Regions from separate parts of the Homo sapiens genome. Here regions 1, 2 and 4 are each linked to region 3. Evidence: promoter capture Hi-C in 16 types of primary human blood cells and fetal thymus (Javierre and others, 2016). All regions are on one chromosome and are shown on one strand. The core of a region is centred on a gene start or on the middle of the fragment in contact, and the rest is flanking DNA. Distances in the headings are between cores, read along the strand shown.

What was found. Contacts are between HindIII fragments. The CHiCAGO score rates a contact against its expected background, and 5 or more counts as called.
Region 1: a fragment that was not itself captured here is called in contact with the fragment with the promoter of LINC02521 in region 3 in 2 of 17 cell types (endothelial precursors and megakaryocytes); the score reaches 5.6 in endothelial precursors.
Region 2: a fragment that was not itself captured here is called in contact with the fragment with the promoter of LINC02521 in region 3 in 8 of 17 cell types (naive CD4 T cells, naive CD8 T cells, naive B cells and 5 more); the score reaches 6.8 in naive CD4 T cells.
Region 4: a contact is called between a fragment that was not itself captured here and the fragment with the promoter of LINC02521 in region 3, in 7 of 17 cell types (naive CD8 T cells, total CD8 T cells, naive CD4 T cells and 4 more). The highest score is 7.5, in naive CD8 T cells.

What each region holds. Positions count from the first base shown.
Region 1 is chr6:2,347,382-2,350,968 of GRCh38, forward strand. The region is part of intron 4 of GMDS-DT (GMDS divergent transcript); the gene reads left to right. Among named protein-coding and RNA genes, the nearest start is that of GMDS-DT, 100 kb to the left of the region's middle. The HindIII fragment of the contact is 5,231 bases long and covers 1-3,587 here.
Region 2 is chr6:2,209,477-2,212,588 of GRCh38, forward strand. All of the region lies in intron 1 of GMDS (GDP-mannose 4,6-dehydratase), which reads right to left. Among named protein-coding and RNA genes, the nearest start is that of GMDS, 35 kb to the right of the region's middle. The HindIII fragment of the contact is 2,301 bases long and covers 575-2,875 here.
Region 3 is chr6:2,632,576-2,635,822 of GRCh38, forward strand. It overlaps LINC02521 (long intergenic non-protein coding RNA 2521), which reads left to right and starts at 1,925. Exons shown (of 3, transcript NR_149119.1): 1 at 1,925-2,180. It overlaps LINC01600 (long intergenic non-protein coding RNA 1600), which reads right to left and starts at 2,028. Exons shown (of 3, transcript NR_131168.1): 1 at 1,990-2,028; 2 at 1,030-1,217. The HindIII fragment of the contact is 1,903 bases long and covers 753-2,655 here.
Region 4 is chr6:2,191,096-2,194,408 of GRCh38, forward strand. The region is part of intron 1 of GMDS (GDP-mannose 4,6-dehydratase); the gene reads right to left. Among named protein-coding and RNA genes, the nearest start is that of GMDS, 53 kb to the right of the region's middle. The HindIII fragment of the contact is 1,113 bases long and covers 1,495-2,607 here.

The DNA.
Region 1 (3,587 bases), core at 885-3,384, 280 kb before region 3:
TCTCCTTCTGTCTGGATTTTGTGTCTTGAGAGCTTGACTTTGATCCATCTGGATTTTGTGTCTTGAGAGCTTGACTTTGATCCAGAGACAGCATTCTCTCTGGCTTTCTGCCTGCTGGGTGGCATTTTTTGATTGGTACACCTCCAGATAAAATTCTGACGTACAAAGTGCTTCACTAAAAGATTCATTGACCAGAGCTAATGAGCAATTCGACAAATGTAAGAAAGAACACACTAGACTCATTTTTCTGGAAAACCTCCCCCTCCATGCTCCCTTGGTTGTCTCCTAATATCCAGCTCTCTTTTCCTTTTATGCTCTGATCACTGTCCTTCCACACCCACACCGCCTCCCTCATCTTCCCTTGGTCCAGACCTCCTACTTTTCCCAAACAACCCTCCTAAAACTCCTCTTTCAAACCAGTTATGTGGGGAAACTGTAGACTTAAGCCTTGGGCCTGGGCTGAATTAAGAGGTATAATTAAAGATTTCCCTAATGCTTGTAATCTCAGCACTTAGGGAGGTTGAGGCAGGAGGATTGCTTAAGCCCGGGCGTCTGAGACCAGCCTGGGCAACACAGTGAGACCCTGTCTGTATTTTTTTTTAAGTTGAAAAAAAAATGATTTCCTTAAAGCCAAAGAAGACCAGCAAATATTTATTAGAAAAGTTTAGAATTCCTCTGGAGGCATATGACCCAGGGACCCCTGACTTTGTACACATGTTGTACACATGGGTACCTTGTACATTTGTCAACGTGTACACATGTTGGTCAGAACCTCCGATGCTAAAGGTTGGAGGGTAAAAGCTGATTGGACTGACCAGGAACGATGCCTTATAGGATTCCCCTTTCCACAATAAACCTGACAGTCAAAAAAAGGGACCTACCCAAAATGTAGGTCAAGTGCCCTAAAAGTCATACCCCAAATGTTTTCAAAACAAATCTGCTGGAGCATAATTCAATCATGCAAACAAACAAAGAAAAAAGATGACACTATAGGAGATTTCCGAGATAGACTAGAAAGCAACTTTGGATGACAGCTGAGCGTTACAGAGGTGCTGAGGGAGCAACAGCCCTTTCATCTGGCTTTGTCAATGGAATTGAACCTGAAGTTGGAGACCTAATTCAAAAACAGAAATGAGCATGGAGAATAGCCACCTGAGATGAGCAACAACACCAGGCACAGCATGTTGCAAGGGCTTTAGAACAAAAACGAGGCAAGATCCAAAGTAAACTGTGGCCCTGCAGATCAAACAGCTGGGTAGCCCACTCCCCAGTCAACCACCTATGGACAAGGACACTTTGGGATATCTTAAACTGGAAAGATCTTCCCATCTTACACACACATGCGCGTGCGCGCTCACACACACACACACACAGAGAACAGAAAAAAATGACAAAAATTCCTTGATTCATATCAATGAAGGAGTTGTGTAGAAGGACAAAGGGCATGATGTCCTGTTATGCTTAAACACTCAAGATGAATTAGCTTAACTGCAGATGGCCGTCCTCATCAGCTGCTAGTAGACACTCTTTATACATTGAACCCTGCTGCCTTTGTTCAACCTCCTCACGGTAACAACTCACAAGTCATTGGGATTTCAAGTAATCCATAGGCTTTTTGTGTCTCTCAGCCCTTAACCACAACCTTTGGGCTCTTCCTGTTCTCTGACACCAATCCTGCAAATTTAGTAGGGAGAGATCTATTCTGCAAATGGAATTGTAATATTAAATGCATACCGGGGGTGGGGGACTGTCTCCTGCGGTGTCAGAGGACCCTGCATTCATAATCGCGTTGCCTGCTCTGGCTGGCTGTGTACCTTAGCCTCTTTTGTTATATTTGAGGAACACCCAAGATAAGGATTATGGGGCAATGTAGGGTTGAGGGAAATTTGTGTTAGGATTTAATAGAACATTCTGAAATTTTTGGAGAAAAATGATAGACATAATATTCTTAATAACAGCTACAGTAGTATAGAGTATATACAGCATCCAAATGGAAATAGTTGTAAATATTTGTCAACATTAAATTTAGTTTAAAATAAAAACCTTGGGAGCTCAGTAGTCAGCTGAGAAAATGTCCTAACCTTGCATTTTGAAGGGGAGATTGACATTTCTTTTTTTTTCCATTTTGTTTATTTATGTATGTATTTGTTTTTCAATTTTACTTTTTATTTTAGATTCGGGGGCACAGGTGCAGGTTTGTTACAAGGGTATATTGTGTGATGCTGAGGTTTGGGCTTCTAATGATCCCATTGCCCGAGTAGCAGACATAGTACCCGATGAGTAGTTTTTCAGCCCATGCCCCCAGCTTCCTTCCTTTTGGAGTCCCCAGTGTCTATTTTTCCCGTCTTCATGTCCTTTTGTGGTGAAGCTAAACATTGGTTTAGCCTATAAGTGAGAACAGGCCGGGTGTGGCGGCTCATGCCTATAATCCCAGCACTTTGGGAGGCCAAGGTGGGAGGACCACTTGAGCCCAGGAGTTTGAGACTAGCCTGGGCAACATGGCAAGACACTGTCTCTACAAAATTTTTAAAAAATTACCTGGGCATGGTGGCATACACCTGTAGTCCAAGCAACTTTGGAGGCTGAGGTGGGAGGATTGCTTGATCCTGAGAGATTGAGGCTGCAGTGAGCTGTGATCACACCACTGCACCGCAGCCTGGGCTGGGCTTTTGAGACAGAGCAAGACCCTGTCTCAAAAGAAAAAAAAAAGAAGTGAGAACATGAAGTATTTGGTTTTCTGTTTCTGTGTCAATTCGCTTAGGATAATGGCCTCCAGCTGCATCCATGTTGCTTCAGGGGACGTGTTCATTCTTTTTTGTGACTTTGTAGTACTCCGTGGTGTATAAGTTTGATATTTTTTCGTTCTTATTTATTTATTTATTTATTTGAGAGGAGTCTCGCCCTGTCGCCCAGGCTGGAGTGCAGTGGTGTGATCTCGGCTTCACTGCAGGCTCCACTTCCCAGGTTCATGCCATTCTCTTGCCTCAGCCTCCCGAGTAGCTAGGATTACAGGCGCCCGCCACCACGCCCGGCTAATTTTTTTGTGTTTTTTAAAAGAGACGGGGTTTCACCCTGTTAGCCAGGATGGTCTCGATCTCCTGACCTCGTGATCCACCCGCCTCGGCCTCCCAAAGTGCTGGGATTACAGGCGTGAGCCACCGCGCCCGGCTGACATTTTCTTTATCCAATCTACTATTGATAGTCACCTGGGTTGTTTCTATGTCTTTGCTGTTGAGAACAGTGCTGTGATAAACATACAAGGGCAGGTGTCTTTTGTGATTTATTTTCCTTTGGGTGTATACCCAGTCATGGGGTTGCTGGGTTGAATGGTAATTCTATTTTTGCTTCTTTGAGAAATCTCCAAACTGTTTTCCACAGGGGCTGAACTAATTTGCATTCCCACCAGCAGTGTATAAGCATGCCCTTTTCTCTGCAGCCTCACCGGCATCTGTTATTTTTTTGACGTTTTAACCATAGCCATTCTGACTGGTGTGAGATGGTGTCTCATTGTGGTTTTGACCTGCATTTCTCTGGTGATCAGTGATGCTGAGCATTTCTTCACGTGTTTGTTGGCCGTATGTATGGAG
Region 2 (3,112 bases), core at 475-2,974, 420 kb before region 3:
CAGTGGGTACTCACACACCTGCTGTCAGTTTTCAAGTGCCAAGTCAAACCTTGCATGTAATGTATCTCTAATACACATACATACACATACACATACACACACACACACACACACACACACACACACACGTTCTCTCTCTCTCTCTCTCTCTGGACTGAATTCTAGAAAACTTCTGCTTATTTTACCTATGTTTAGCATTATCAAACGTGCATTTATAAAACCTCTAGAAGCCAGTAAGTGGCCCTAAAAAAGGACACGTAAGAAAAAATAATTTTAAAATTGGGAGGAAAATCTATCTTCGGGGTTCTAATACGATTTACCACAATGTTTAATGCTAGGCTTAAGACAGATTCTTAAGCTGTTTCAGATAAACCAAGAGGCTAACAGAGCCCAGCTCACACTACCATGGCTGCCAGGCACAGGAAGATAGAACACACACTCCTTACCCAAAGGACCCAAAACCTAGCGTGAAATGATCCGTAAACAAGACAGCCTTAACATATAGAAAGGTGATATATTCTGTTGTATGTAATTAGTGAAAAAGATAATCACTATTCTACACTAGAGAAAACAAAGCTTCATATAAATAAATTTTCTAGCTACTGAAAGTAACCAATTTAGCTCCTGAGTGCCTTTATTATAATCAACAAATTTGTACAGAATATTTCAAAAATCTATTTCCTACTTTCCACAGATTGCATTTTAAGGATGCAAGCTCTGAAACCAGAGTGCCCAGTTAGCATCCCAGGTCCACCACACAAGGCAGGCCAAGTTCATCTCCATAAGCCTCAGTTTCTGCACCTACCTTAGCACACTGTTAAAAGGATTAAATGGCATAATGCACATAAAATACTTAGAACACTTAGCCTGGCAAATAGTAAGTGCTCAATATATTTTACCTATTATTAAGAAAACCTGTAGTGGTCAGGGTTTGTTAACTACCAAGTTATCTAACAAAATCCCCAATGTGCTTACCCATCCTTTCCTGGTGTAACGCAGCCCCAGGAGTGCCTCGAGAATGGACGGGCTAAGACATGAGTATGGGGTTCATTTCAGACCAATGAGACAGGAAAGGAAATCAGCTAGGGGCTTCCAGGAAAGGTCTGCTTACTCCCAAGGTGGGAAAGGAAATCAGCTAGGGGCTCCCAGGAAAGGTCTGCTTACTCCCAAGGTGGGGTAAGAGACAGACAGAGGTGGGCCATGGGCAGTGGTGTCTCCTCCTGAACCCGCATCTCTGGGCACGGCACCTGGAGGGTCTACACCCACCCTCTGCCCTATCACACCACATGTAGTTCATCCCTTTCACGGCACTTAGTGACTAACATGGTTTGGCTCTGTGTCCCCATCCAAATCTCATGTTGAATTGTAATTCCCAGCACTGAGGGAGGGACCTGGTGGGAGATAATTGGATCATGGGGGCGGATGTCCCCCTTTCTGTTCTCGTGATAATGAGTTATCATGAGATCTGATGGTTTAAAAGTGTGTGGCACTTCTCCCTTCACTGTTTCTTCTGATGCCATGTGAAGATGTGCTTGCTTCTCCTTCGCCCTTCCACCATGATTGCAAGTTTCCTGCAGCCTCCCAGGCATACTCCCTGTACAGCCTGCATAACTGTGAGTCAATTAAACCTCTTTTTCTTCATAAATTACCCAGTCTCAGGTAGCTCTTTATAGCAGTGTGAGAACGGACTAACACAGTGATTACCCAAAACAGCTCTGGTTTGTTTACTTCTGTCTTTCCTCTGCCACCACACTAGAAGAGTAAGAGGAATGTTTTTTGGGGATGTGCATTACTAACGCCCCTTACACACGTACTTGACGTCTGGGGCCATGTCTACCACGTTCATTCCCACCTGAACATAGTGGGTGTTCAGCAAATACCTGCTGAAGAAGTAATAAAATAATCTCAAGTATCTATTTGTTTTCCAAATGACATCTGCTTATTTTTAATGTGTATAACACTTTCAATTACTTTCTCCTACAATTCTCTAATTTGCATGTTAAACTTTAGATAAGACTAATTAATAGTAACATCTGCCCTATATGTTTTTTTAAAAAATAGACCCTACATCAAAAGATGTTCAAAATAAACCAAAAGGATGCTCAAATAGGTCTATTTGAAATGCTCAAATAGTCTCACTCCTCTTTGTAGCAAGATCTTCCCCACCAAAAATAACTAGAAAAAATTTTTTAACTCCCAAAGAACACGTAAGGCAGGAAAAAATACGTATTTCATGTTAGTAGTTTTTAAATAATCTATGCCGTAGGGTCAGAAAACAGACATTAGTGAGAATGAGCCCAGAATTCTAAATTCCCATGAAATATTTATTCAATTTGAAAACAATGTTACCAAGTTTACGACTTCCAGTCTTTTAGGTGAGCCAAAGTAGGAACTAGGTACTCTTGTAAGACATTATACATAAAAGCCTTCCAAAAATATGACTTTCCTATCCCTTTTCACAGTTTCGTCACCTAAAATTTAACTAAACCTTCAACAATTGGTAATAATTTAACCCATCTCTTTTTAATTACAGTTCATTCAAGTAAGTAAATATAGTATAACTGTGCAGGGAATTTTAATGTCATAGTACCTATTTGTTTTTAATTTAGAACCTGTGTTACATTTCTCTGTAATTCAATTGATTAAGAAGCCAAGTAGATGTGATATTTTGTGATATGATAAAGAAAAGTTATACTACTTCAAACCTGGAGCTTTTAACATATGAATTCAATTATAAAATAGCAATATCTCAACTAACTCCTGCAGTGGCTCTACTGTTATTTTCTACTTGGGAAAGTTAAGAGTTCAAGAAGGTCTTTGTCAAAAACTTAAGCAGGCAAGCATACAGACATGTTAACAATTCAGAATCCACCCAAGCTTAGACAAAACACTGCTTCAAGCAGCGAGCATTGCAGGACCAACATTTCAAAGAATTTTTCCTAAAAAGAAAGAGCAACAAAAAAATCAACAGGACAAAACCTCAAAAACATTACAACAATTTTTAGATAATAATACAAGTTATAGGATATTCCTTATGTGCTTAAAATTTACACTTAAACAATACATATTCTCTAACTGCACAGCCCCAAACCCATGTTTTGCAAGGGAATAA
Region 3 (3,247 bases), core at 675-3,174:
ATACATGAGACAAAAATAGGCCAGCATACCCTCCCTTGCCAGGCCCTCATTGTTGAGGGATGAGATGAGGGCTGGGCAAGCGGTTACACAGCCGAAACCAGGGCCCTAGAACCCAGCTCTGCCAGCATGGGCGCCCCACAGCTCTGCCCACAGCGTCTGCTCTTTATTCTTGGTTTCTCCTCTCCTTCTCTTCCACTTCCCATTCTTTGTGATCCATCTTTTTCCAAAAGTTGACAGGTTGGCTGGAGACAATTCCCCCTGCCAGCTTTTCTGTCTTTTCCACCTTTAGTTTAAGTTGTCCATGAGGGCTGGTGATCCATTTTCGGTCCTCCATACCTTCCTGGGCAATCCCTCTGGGCCCTCACACCTCCACGCCCTCCACCCTCCCAGCTCCTTCCTCCCGGGGCCTCGAGCTTTTCCCTTTTTTCATCCTCTGTGCACTGTTTCACCCCGACATGTATGTTATTGTTTGACTGTGGCATCAGCCATTCTTGGAGACTTTTCCCAGGGCTTGCAATTTTGTAGCAGAGAGAGATTTTCTATCTAAAGCAAAATGCTGGTCTTGTTTAAATAAATAATAAGATAAAAGAATCAGGCACTGTAGGGGTATTTGGCCCACAGCCATCCTGTCTCAGCAGGGTCCTTTTCATTGAGGGAAGCATTTTTCATATCCATAATTTGCCCCTTTCTCTAACCCAGGGTGCACGCTGCCGTGGCCCTTGGTGACAATGTCCCCTGTGGCCTTCCTCCAAAGCTTGCTCCAGCAAGCTCTGACATGGTGTCCTCCCTCCCCTTCTGGGCTGCGGCTTCTCCAACCTCCCCCAGCTCCTGCAGACAGAGGAGAAACAGCAAGTCACAAGATAAGACAAAGACCCTCTAGGCCAGGCCACTCCTCGCTGCCACTCTGGGACAGCAAGGCAAAACGCAGACGGCCCCAGCTCTGGACGCCTCTCCTCCTCTGGACCCTAACCCTAACCCTAAGCCACTGGAACACTCACGGGAGAAAGCTGGACCTGCTTTGAGGCTCACCTCCCTGCATGCACATCCATCCGGCTTCTCTCAAGAAGCAACCTGGTGTCTGAGAGCCGTTGAGTCTTCATCCCAGCTCTGGTATTTCTCTCATGTGGCCACATAACCTTGAATGTCTGACCTTCAATTTCTTCATCTGTACAGTGGTGAAGATGATCCCCACTTTGCTAGGTTGTTGTGAGCATTACCTAAAAGAAAATAGGTGCTATGGCGGCATGTTTGTTGAGCTAGGAGGACTCGGAACAAAATTAGCTTCTGCACCGGCTGTGCTGGAGCCAGGCAGGCCGCTCCGGTGTGGCCCTGTTTTTCCTGGTTTGTGTCCCAGGAACCTGCCAACCCTCATTGTCCCGGATTTTCCCTTTGACTCCAAAAGCCGTGTCTTTCTTATCAAGCCTCTTTATTTTTGTTATTATCCCGTCAACATACTCCCCTCTGATTCGCCCCCACTAATGACTCGCGCCCTTTCCAAAGTCCCAGCACACCGCGCTTATAATCTCTTTCAGCTGTCCTTAAAAAGGTTCTATTTGTCCCCTCCGCCCCGCTCAGGGGCGCCCGGACTCTGGGGCCCGGCCTTCGCGGGCTCCCGGGTTCCTCCCATCGCTTCCCTCACAGTCCTGGCCGCAGGGCAGCGGGTTTCGCACGGGAGGGAAGGTTTGGATGGCTAACGCCCAGGGTTGGTCTTCCCTGTGTCTTTTATGGGAACACGTTCCTGCCTGCGCCCCACGGGACAGAGCCGTTTTCCCGCCCCGCCACGCCGCGCCCGCAGGCCCCGCTGCCCGCAGCCTCTTCCCGACGCCCCAGGCCGTGCGCCCCCCCGAACCGGGCCCACCGCGTGCTGTGCGGGGCTTCCGCGCCTGCGCACGAACGCTTCTGCGAGCTTTCTCGGAAGCAGCTGGGGGGCGGGGAATCTGCTGAGGAACGGCGCTTTATAAATCAAAAGATAATAATAACAGAGCTTACGGTGAGCACCGGAGGCTGGAAACGGGGTGGCATCCGCTCGGGGCGGGGCGGCGTCGCCAGCGAATGACAACACTGCCCCCTGGTGGCCGATGCGGCCAGGCCCGAGAGAGCGCAGGCCGGGTGCGAGCCAGGCTTCCTCACCACGCGGCTTCCCCACTCATCCCATAGAAACCGTAACTGAGCAAATGACGGTAAGTCCCCAGGAAGCGTTAAGGCCAGGAAGCAGCACAGGAGAAAAACCCGAATCCCATTTTTTTAGAGTAGGGATTTATTTGTTGTCCCCAGATAGCAAGCTGAATTTCTGAATAGTTCAGAGCTCACAAAAGAAGCCAAGACCTTTCAGGGCATTTTATAATGTTGCTTTTTATAAACAAAATATTGAAACCACTACTATCACTGTCACTGGGGGATTACTGTTGAGCAGAAATGCTTGTGAAACTCCCAAAAGAAAGGGTCGTTTGTGCTTCTTTGGCATTAAGTAAAAATGTCCTGTTTGGTGTGTACACGTTTTCATATTTAATTATTCACACTGTGCACTTTATATATAAACTCAGCACTTAGGTTCTCTGTGAGCCAGAAACCTGGCTTCTGTGCTCATCCATAGACCCAGTGAGAGTGTAGAAGCCAAGCCTGGTGGAGCCTGTGTCTACCAGGGCATTGCAGTAAAGCTTCTACCACTCACTGTAAATACCTCCCATCGAGGCTGAGGAAAAGTTGTAGCATACTTGGAAATTGGGGTGGAGTATTGTCATCCAAAAAGGCATATTTCTTTTGGTGTTTTCCATACCCGGCTGTGTCATTGTGAAGCCTCAGCTCTCCCAATCTCCCCATAAACTGGAGGAATCCTAGTGTTTCCTGTCCTGCCACATTATGTGTGGGGAAGATTTTTTTTTTTTTTTTTGAGACAGAGTTTCACTCTTGTTACCCAGGCTGGAGTGCAATGGCGCGACCTTGGCTCACTGCAACCTCTGCTTCCTGGGTTCAAGCGATTCTTCTGCCTCAGCCTCTGGAGTACGGAGCTGGGATTACAGGCACCCGCCACCATGCCCGACTATTTTTTGTATTTTTTAGTAGAGACCGGGTTTCACCATGTTGGCCAGGCTGGTCTCAAACTCCTGACCTCAGGTGATCCACCCGCCTCGGCCTCCCAAAATGCAGAAAGAGTCTTAAGATGGATTTTTAGTAAGTACTTCAAGCGGCTTTATGAAAGCTACCGTCAGTAAAGTAGAAAACTATATATGCACATATTTAGATATGG
Region 4 (3,313 bases), core at 801-3,300, 440 kb before region 3:
CCACGCCCACTGCACCAAGGGTGCCGTGTTCTTGCGCCCCCAGAGAGGACTCTGCACAGGGCCACCCACAGCCATGTCCCCAGGGGTCCGCCCCGCATGGGGTGACCACCGGGCCTGACACTCCCGACCCGCTATCCGCTCCTGGAGGCACCCCCTGGGGAAGGGCCGCAAGCGGGATGAGGGGGAGCTCTAGGCTGCCCCTGAGTGCGGGGGCCACGGGGGAGCTCACAGTGATGTCCCTGGACACCAGCCCAGGCCCAGCAAGGACCTAGAGCCCCCAGGCTGCAAGGGGGCACAGCTGGGACTTCCCGCTTCATGGAACCGGGAGCCAGGAGCAGGCACCAGCCCTGCCCTCCCAGACACATCTGCAGCCGCCCAGGTGGGGCTGTGGACCCGGGCCTCTCTGCACTCTTGGGGGCCCTGGAAGGCCCCCGCCTTGCCCTTGCAGGCTCGGAGGTGCCTACCTCCACTGTCTGGCCTCTCCCCGCTCCAGGCACCTGCTATGATCTCCGAATGGGGTTGGGGCCAAGCCGGGGAGCTGTCACAGCCCAGCCAGGTATGTGAGGGTCCTGCCACCTCAGCTCCCTCCAGACTCTGTGTGCTGACAAGCATGGGATGTGGAACCTAGGGGGACACTGAGAGCAGCTTGATGCTGGCCTGCAGGTACCCCATGGATGAGCAGCCTGGGTACCACAGACCATGGCAGGAAGCAGACAGGCTCCGGGGTGGAAGGGGGTAGGTCCCTGGTGAGACCCCACCTTCAGGCCAGGGAGGGCATGAAGGCTGGGAGCCAGGCCACCAGTCCCACAGACCACACTGCAGGCTTATGGTGACTTTTCTGGGCCTGCCCATGACCACCCATGGACCAACTGGCACACACTTCCTCCACTCTGAGGCCCATAAAAGCCCCGGGCTCAGCTAGAGCAGGGCAGGGGATGGGGAGAAGATGAGATGACCAGATGCAGAGAGGAGCTACTCTCTCTGCTAAGAGCTGCAGAGACAATGGGACAAGCTGCCTACAGAGAGAAGCCACCCACTCTAGGGCCTCCTCTGTGCCGACAGCTGCAGACTACAGGAGCTACCCTCTCTGCTGACAGCTGAACACTTGTTGGGATGACCAGCTGCAGAGAGGAGCTACCCTCTCTGCTAGGAGCTGAACACTCATCGGGACACCCTGGCTATGGAGAGGAGCTGCCCACTGTGGGTCTTCTCTGAGCTGTTCTATTACTCAATAAAGCTCCTCTTTGCCTTGCTCACCCTCCACTTGTCTGCGTACCTCAGTCTTCCTGGTCACAAGACAAGAACTCAGGACCCACTAAATGGCAAGGCTAAAAGAGCTGTAACACACACAGGGCTGAAACATGCTCCTCACTCATCAAATTGCAGGTGAAGAGGGGAGAACAGCTGTGGTCCTTCAAGGAGCCCTGACCTGGGAGCTCCCCAAGCCAGGGCTGTGACTCCTTCTTTGGGGCCCCATGGTTCCTGGCATCTCCAAGCTTCTGGGAGCCATTGCATTCCTTGGTGCCAGCTGGGGAAGCTGTCTGCAGTGCACCTGGTCCAGCCGCAGCCTCACAGAGAGCCAGTGCCCATGCTGGCACCTAGAGCTGACAGCCCCACAGCAGCAGCCAGCATGTCTGACTGTGCAGTAGCCCAACCCCGCACTCACTCACACACGTCTTGCCAGTCCACGCCTGACTCAGTCTCCCTTGGAGGTGTGGGATCCAGGCCGGTACCATGAGCTAAGTGCAGCCTGCCAGGCCAAGTGGGAGGAACAAGCCCAGCAGGCCCAAACAAAAGTTGGACAAAGACACCACTGGCCACAGCTTTCCAACCAGAAAAATGACACCCCAAAGATCCTGTAACACTATTTCCAGAAAGTGGCAGAGAAATGTGCTAGGGCTTAACCATTGGCTCTGATAGCCCTCATCCCAGGATCCCTAAGGAGGGTTTTGGGAATTTGTGAACGTTTCAGTTGTCACAATCACTGGGGGATGCTACTGGCACTGAGTGGGTGGAAACCAGGAACACTAGAGGTCCTAAGACACCCAGGACAGTCTGCACGGCCAAAGACTTCTGCATTCCTCACAACTTCCTCAAGTCCTGCTGAATATTCACGTGGGTAAAAAACCTGTTTATAATTGTCTGAGCGTAAAACCTCACTCAAGTTATTACATAGGCACAACGTATGTGTTACAAAGTATGTGTTAAACAGGAAGACTACCATTTTATTCCAAATTTAACCAAATTTGACCATTTCAAGAAACAATGACACCAACAGCACACCACCAGTGCTTGCTGAGTCTCCACTGCCATCCACGTGCCACAGTCTGCATCTGCAGCTGCCACAGCAGGGATGCTCCCAAAGTGTGGCCTCTGAGCAGTTCCTCCACACCCTAGGCAGCAGGGTCTCCACATCTGAATACTGAGATGCAAGTTCTCCTGGCAAACAACTTGCTTTTCATTTCCTTTTTCACTGTCATAAAAAGGGTATATGGATTTTTTTAAATAACATGTGTAATTAGGATATGTTATTCACAAATTTCATTTTAGGATTGTAAAGGTGGCAAATACACATGAAATAGCCAGATGGATTCCTGGAATAGTGGAAGCTTAGTGAAAATGCTATTTTTTTTTTTTTTTTTTTTTTGAGATGGAGTCTCGCTCTGTTGCCAGGCTGGAGTGCAGTGGCGCGATCTCGGCTCACTGCAAGCTCTACCTCCCAGGTTCACGCCATTCTCCTGCCTCAGCCTCCCAAGTAGGTGGAACTACAGGCATCCACCACCACGCCCAGCTAATTTTTTGTATTTTTAGTAGAGATGGGGTTTCACCATGTTAGCCAGGATGGTCTCCATCTCCTGACCTCATGATCCACCCGCTCGGCCTCCCAAAGTGCTGGATTACAGGCGTGAGCCACCGCGTCCAGCCAAAAATGCTATTTTTTTTTAAAAAAAAAGAAGCATTATAAATATGATGTGTCTTTCTCAATTCAGCATGATGTAAGTCAAGTTAGGTAGTTCCCATGCCTCAGGAAATCCTGGCTTAATCTCAGCTCTGTCAGCAGTTTGGACTGTGTGTGTGTGTGAGGGGAGGAAAAGGCATCTATTGATTAAGGTGCTTCTGTATTCTCCATTGAGTTCTTCTTGAGTTCAAGGTTAATTTTTTAAATCACTGTAATCTTTGAATGTTCTTTAAAAGAACATTAAAGCAGAGAGAAATGGCATTATAATATTCACAATACAAAAAATTAAGACTTGTAAAGAAGAGTGAAGAAAGTTGGGGAAAATATGCTTCATGATTCTTAAAGGTCGATTCC